Regions from separate parts of the Homo sapiens genome. Here region 1 is linked to region 2. Evidence: promoter capture Hi-C in 16 types of primary human blood cells and fetal thymus (Javierre and others, 2016). All regions are on one chromosome and are shown on one strand. Each heading gives the region's core, a stretch centred on a gene start or on the middle of the fragment in contact. The rest is flanking DNA. Distances are from core to core; before and after follow the strand shown.

Region 1 (3,507 bases), core at 545-3,044, 230 kb before region 2:
TAGCAGTGAAAATAAGTGAATTAGAGCTATACACGTTTCCACATAGATAAATCTCAAAAGCATTACACTGGATTAAAAAAAGCAAGTTTCAGAAGGCAGGACCCAGTGCCACCTTAGTGCCAGCTCTGTCAGGATACACCCAGTATGATCCTGCTATCAGAGGTCCCCAAGACCACCCTGAGGTTCAATGACTCACTAAGAGGAGTCACAGGATTTTGCTTGGAAGCGTAGGCATGGCTGTGATTTATGATAGTGAAGAGACACAAGGCACAATCAGCAAAGGGAAAAGATGCAGGAGCTGAAGTCCAGAGGAAACCAGGACAAGCTTCTAAGAGTCCTCTCCTAGTGGAGTCACACAGGACTCCATCAATTCCTACCGCCAAGTATGACAGCACGACGGATAGGCGGTCTACCAGGGAAGCTCATTACTCAGTGACCAGAGTTGTACTTGGGGGTGGTCGTGTACCAAAATGCCAGACTCCAGAAGGAGAGCAGGTGTTCAACATGAACCACATTGTTGGTGGAAACAGTTTAGGCACTCATCATTTGGGGAACGGCAGGAACCCTCCTGAAATCCAAGTTCCTAGATATCAGCCAAGGGCCAATCTTGCAAACAGGTCTTTCTAAGGATAGCAGTCTCAGGCCTGCTAGGTTAACTCTAAATTGCGCAGACACCATTTATATAAAAGTATAGAACATGACAAACAATACTATATATTGTTTAAAGATACACGCCGATATGCACAGAAGACTGTAAACACCAAATTCAGGGTTGTGGTTACATGTGAGGAAAAAGGAAGAGGAATGGGTTTGATGTAGGGGTATAGGGCCCTTCAGTTGCATCTCTAATGTTTTAGCTGTTAAGCTGGGTAACAGTATTTTGCTATAGCACTTCTTATACTTTCTCGAGCATGTGTGCACCTGAAGTATTAAACAAGAATGAAGACGTATCTGCTTATTACTATATGCTACTAACAGTTCAGTCTTTTGTTTGTTTTTAGACAGGGTCTCACTCTGTTGCCTAGCTAAGCTGGAGTGCAGTGGTGAGATCTTGGTTCACTGCAACCTCTGCCCCCAGGGCTCAAGCAATCCTCTCACCTCAGCCTCCTGAGTAGCTGGGACCACAGGCACATGCCACCACACCCGGCTAATTTTTTTATGTTTTGTAGAGACAGGGTTTTGCCCAGGCTGGTCTCGAACTCCTGAGGTCAAGCAATCTACCCGCCTCAGCCTCCCAAAGTGCTGGGATTACAGGCGTGAGCCACTGCACCTGGCTGGTTCATGTTTATTGAGTACTTTTCACATTCCAGGTACTATGCTAAACCCACCCTTTACATAGATTTATTCTTTTTTTTTTTGAGACGGAGTCTTCCTCTGTCACCAGACTGGAGTGCAGTGGTGCAATCTAGGCTCACTGCAACCTCCACCTCCCAGGTTCAAGCAATTCCCCTGCCTCAGCCTCCCAAGTAGCTAGGACTACAGGTACGCACCACCACGGCTGGCTAATTTTTTGTATTTTAGTAGAGACAGGTTTTAATCATGTTTGCCATGATGGTCTCGATCTCCTGACCTGGTAATCCGCCCACCTCGGCCTCCCAGAGTGTGTGACTCACTGCGCCCAGCCAGATTTATTCTTTTTGAAAAATTGATTGAGGACTTTCTATGAGCCACGTCCTCTGCTAAGCTCTGGAAGTACAACATTGAGAGGTGTGAGCTAGGCGAGATCTCTTCTCACAACCAGCTTTCAATCTACTGAGGGATGATGAGATAATAAGCACAATTTAAAACCAAAATAAGTAGAAATTCTTTTTTTCTTTTTAAGATGGAATCTCTCTCAGTTGCCCAGGCTTGAGTGCAGTGGCGTGATCTCGGCTCATTGCAGCCTCTGCCTCCCCGGTTCAAGCAATTCTTCTGCCTCCTGAGCAGCTGGGACTACAGGCACGTGCCACCACGCCCAGCTAATTTATTTATTTATTTATTTATTTATTTTGTATTTTTTTTTTTTAGTAGAAACGGGGTCTTGCCATGTTGGCCAGGCTGGTCTCGAACTCCTGACCTCAAGTGACCGGCCCGCCTTGGCCTCCTAAAGTGCTGGGATTATAGGTGTGAGCCACCATGCCCACCCGAAAATAAGTACAAATTCTGATATGCGTTACTAAGATCATAAAACTGAGTGATGTGATTAAGAAAAAGCTACTTTATTTATTTATTTATTTTTTTTGACACGGAGTCTTGCTCTGTCACCCAGGCTGGATTGCAGAGGCACGATCTCAGCTCACTGCAACCCTCACCTCTCAGATTCAAGCGATTCACCTGCCTCAGCCTCCCAAGTAGCTGGGACTACAGGCGCCCGCCACCACGCCCGGCTAATTTTTTGTATTTTTAGTAGAGATGCGGTTTCACCATGTTAGCCAGGATGGTCTCGATCTCCTGACCTCGTGATCCGCCTGCCTTGGCCTCCCAAAGTGCTGGGATTACAGGCATGAGCCACCGCGCCCGGCCAAGAAAGTGCTACTTTAAATAGGGTACTCTGGGAAGTCTTCTTTCAGAGGACATTTGAGCTGAACCACAAGCGAAGAGAAAGAGACAGCCATGCAATTATCTGGAGGAAGCACATTCCAGGCAGAGGGAACGGCAAGTGCAAAGCCCTGCGGCAGAAATAAGCTGGGTGTGTTGAAAGAAGGGAAATAAAGCCAGCTGGGCTTGAGAGCGGTGACAAGAGGAAGAATGGTAGATGAGGCCTGAGAGGTCAGCTGAGGCCACCACGCAGGGCCGCCTAAGCCATAGGAAAGATCTTAGGTTTCATTCTAAGTAGGATAAGCCTCTGAAGGTTTTAAGCAGAGTAATGACATGATCTGGTTTACAAGTGAAGATCATTCAGCCAGCTGTAAGGAGAATGCATCATAGACAGGGCCACATTCTTCATTAGCGCCACGGAAATAATGCTGGTGGATCATGAGCTTCTCAGGGGCTACGAAAAGGTCAGGGACAGGGATAAAGGGAAAAAAGTTCCACAATGCAAAGAGAAAACTACAAAGTTGGAATGAATAAATGTTTAATTAAGCATCTAGAAATGTGACATCATGACAACTGCATTAATCATTAAATTTAGTATTCATAAGCAATCGAATTACATTTGGAAATTAGATTTTCTCAAATCACAAATATCCCTAAGTATGCAATGATTGCCAAGAAATCAAGCGAATCATAAATGTGAGTTTCCTTGAAGCCAAATAATTTCAAAAGAATAAAAACAAAGCTTTCGATTTTTTAACAGCTAAAAAGAATTTTTCTTAACTTAATGTGAGATGTAGATACCAAAAATGGGCTAGGCGCTGTAATCCCAGCACTTAAGGACAAGATAGGTGGACTGCTTGAGGCCAGGAGTTTCAAGACCAGCCTGGGCAACAGCGAGACCCTGTCTCTACAAAAAATTTAAAAAGTATAAGAGGCAGGGCACGGTGGCTCATGCCTGTAATCTCAGCACTTTGGGCGGCCGAGGTGAGT
Region 2 (3,151 bases), core at 522-3,021:
GCAGACCCGTCTTCCTATCTTGGCTAATGACCAATCATGATGTGATAACATCGTGTTTAACCATATGAAATTGCCTTTCCTGTAGGTAAAAAATGGCCAAATATTGGCAATTATGTATGGTTCCACCAACTAGTAATAATGATAATAGTAACATTTATTGAGTGCTATGTTCTAGCACTTTCCATAAACTATCTCAATGACTCTCTACAACTGTCCTGTAATGTAGGGTCTCTTGGAGGTCTCCATTTTTAATTTTTTATTTATTTATTTATTTTCAGAAGGAATTTATTTATTTATTTTGAGAAGGAGCCTTGCTCTGTCACCCAGTCTGGAATGCAGTGGCGCGATCTCAGCTCACTGCAACCTCCGCCTCTCGGTTCAAGCGATTCTCCCACCTCAGCCTCCCGAGTAGCTGGGATTACAGGTGCCCGCCACCATGCCCAGCTAATTTTTGTATTTTTAGTAGAGATGGGGTTTCGCCATGGCCTCCCAAAGTGCTGGGATTACAGGTGTGAGACACCACCCCGGACTTCCATTTTTAATTTTTTATCTTTATTTTAGAGAAAGAGTCTTGTTCTGTCACCCAGGCTGGAGCAGAAGTAGCGCAATCATAGCTCACTGCGGTCTTGAACTCCTGGGCTCAAGCAATCCTCCCTTCTTAGCCTCCCAAGTAGTAGTACTACAGGCACATGCCACCATGCCCAGTTAGTCTTTTTTTGTCGAGACGGGGGTCTTGCTTTTGCCCAGGCTGGTCTCAAACTCTGGCCTCAAATGACTCTCCCACCTCTGCCTCCGCCTCCATCTCCTGAAGTGCTGGGATTATAGAGATCTCCATTTTACAGATGAGAAAGCTGAGGCTCAGAGCTGTAAAGTCAAGTGTCCGATGTACAGAGGCCAGGAGGGAACTTCAGGTCAGCCAGACTCTAATATCTGAACACCAAGCTATGTCCTGGGCTCCTTCCATCAAAACTGAGAAAAATCAAACTATCTGGTGCCTGGGGCAAAGAAGTCGGGAGAGTGAGAAGGGGTCCAGCCACAGTGCCATAAGCTTATGGCTGCAGCCCTGGATTTGTGCTTAGCCCTGGCCAAGCTGTTAATCCCTATGACCTTGGGCAGATGTCTTCACGTCTCTGAGTCTCAAAGTCCTCATCTGTACAATGGAATAAAAAGAGTCTGACATGGCCCGACTGATGCAAGGGTTTGATGTGTCAAGTCCGAGGACTGCCCCTCCTCGACTGGAGCAGCTGTGGCAACAGGTGGCCCCGAACCCGGGGCAGGGCCCCAGGAGCTGGGGAGCCAAGGCCAGTAGGCCACACTTGGGTGGTGTTGGAGCCTCACCTGGGGGGAGGCGGGGACCGGGGCTTACCTGTGGGGCGGAGATCGGGCTTCCCTGGGGGGTGGGGCCCTTCCCTGAGCGAGTGACGGGGGTGGGGAGGGATCCCCAGGTCGGGCCGTGGGGCGCAAACTCACCTGGCGGGCGGCCGCGGCGCCTCTGCCCGGGGGTCCCGGGGGTCCTTTCCTCTTGTGCATCTTCAAGGCTGGATGCCCGGACCACCTGCCCCCAAGCCCGGCCTTGCCCTGCCTCCTTCCCCGGGCTCTGTCGCCGCGCACTCGCCCTTCCTGAGTCCTGCACTCCTCGTCGGCGCCCCGCGGCCGTCGATCCCGAGCCCTCGCTTCCCTGCTTGGCCGTCCCACTTCCGCCTCGGGCCTCGGGCGCCGCCGCACCGGAGCGCGGCCACTGGGCTCGCCGGGTCTGCCGAGCCGAAACTACAACTCCCGGCAGGTAGTGCGTGGGCGCGCAGGCGCCTGGCTGGGGCGGTGCTGACTGTCGCGGGCTGCGAGGGCGGTGTTTGCGTCGCTCATGCGCGGGGCGGGACCTCGCGGGGCGCGGGAAAGAGGCAGAGCGCGCGCAGGTGTGAGGGGCGGCGACATCTGTGGGGTTCAGAGCGTCTGTCAGTCACCGACGGGCTCCGGCTTCACGTGGGCTCTCGGCCTGTGGAGTCCTCACTTCTCGGTGGTCGGCGTAGTGTCAGTGTGGGGCTTGTCACCGGGAGCGGGGTCTACAGCGCCCACCCTCAGGCCTTTCCATCTTTCACCTCCGGACTCGAGGCCTCCAGCGTTCTGTGAGGGCCAATTTGGCCATTTATTTTTTCCAAAAAGAGTAACGCGGATAATTCAAGCGACTTATTCCCAACTGATCCAGGCAGAGCTCGTTTCTGATAAGGACAGAGGGTCCTCAACGACTTCTGTGGCCCAGGTCCGTTCTGGTTTGCCTCGCCCCCAAGGCTGGGAGAAACCGGCCTATGGCAGCTCTTTCCCCTCCAAGGACCCAGCTGTCCCCTTTAAAGTGGCACGATCTTGGCTCATTGCAACCTCTGCCTCCTGGCCTTGTACCACAGCCTCCTGAGTAGCTGGGATTACGGGTGTGTGCCACCGCACCTGACTAATTTTTTTTTTTTTTTTTGAGACGGAGTCTCGCTCTGTCGCCCAGGCTGGAGTGCAGTAGAGCGATCTCGGCTCACTGCAACCTCTGCCTCATGGGTTCAAGGAATTCTACTGTCTCAGCCTCCCAAGTAGCTGGGATTACAGGTGTGCGTCACGATGCCCAGGCTAATTTTTGTGTTTTTAATAGAGAGGGGGTTTCACCATATTGGCCAGGCTGGTCTCCAGAGGCCCCTGGAGAGTCCTCAAGTGTCCTTGGAAGGGCCCCCAGATACCCCAGTCTGGAGGGAGGGGCTTCACACAGGCTGTTTCATCCTAGGGACCAGAGTCTGGGTCCCCGGGGCTATCTATAAGGACCCCCCAGGGCCCATTTGTCTTTCAGGTCCTGGGCATAAGATCTTCAGTTTGGAGGAGGTTTGAATTCCTACCTGGCCATGGCCCAAAGTGGCTGTGACTCTGTGTCCCATCCTGTGTCCCAGTGGGAGCCATCTGACCCCTGGGGCAGCCAAATGGGCTGAGGTGGAGGTAGGGGTAACCTCTGCTCTCAGCCAAAGCCACTGGATATAAACAGAGACAGAGACTGCTTATAATGATGAGAGATTTTGCTTGTTTTCAGATTTCTCAAGGGGAAGATAAAATGACTAAGAGGAAGAAGCTGCGGACCTCAGGTACGTTCATTCAAATGGACACTTGTTGATTTCTGCTTCTG

What was found. Contacts are between HindIII fragments. The CHiCAGO score rates a contact against its expected background, and 5 or more counts as called.
Region 1: a contact is called between a fragment that was not itself captured here and the fragment with the promoter of CC2D1A in region 2, in 14 of 17 cell types (total CD8 T cells, erythroblasts, monocytes and 11 more). The highest score is 7.1, in total CD8 T cells.

The regions. Positions count from the first base shown.
Region 1 is chr19:14,139,325-14,142,831 of GRCh38, reverse strand. The region is part of intron 1 of ADGRL1-AS1 (ADGRL1 antisense RNA 1); the gene reads right to left. Among named protein-coding and RNA genes, the nearest start is that of ADGRL1-AS1, 3.9 kb to the right of the region's middle. The HindIII fragment of the contact is 2,934 bases long and covers 328-3,261 here.
Region 2 is chr19:13,904,821-13,907,971 of GRCh38, reverse strand. CC2D1A (coiled-coil and C2 domain containing 1A) reads right to left here and starts at 1,771. Exons shown (of 29, transcript NM_017721.5): 1 at 1,471-1,771. The coding sequence starts at 1,530. BRME1 (break repair meiotic recombinase recruitment factor 1) reads left to right here and starts at 1,855. Exons shown (of 9, transcript NM_001345843.2): 1 at 1,855-2,257; 2 at 3,059-3,110. The coding sequence starts at 3,080. RefSeq lists a silencer at 1,397-1,456. The HindIII fragment of the contact is 3,878 bases long and covers 1,051-3,151 here.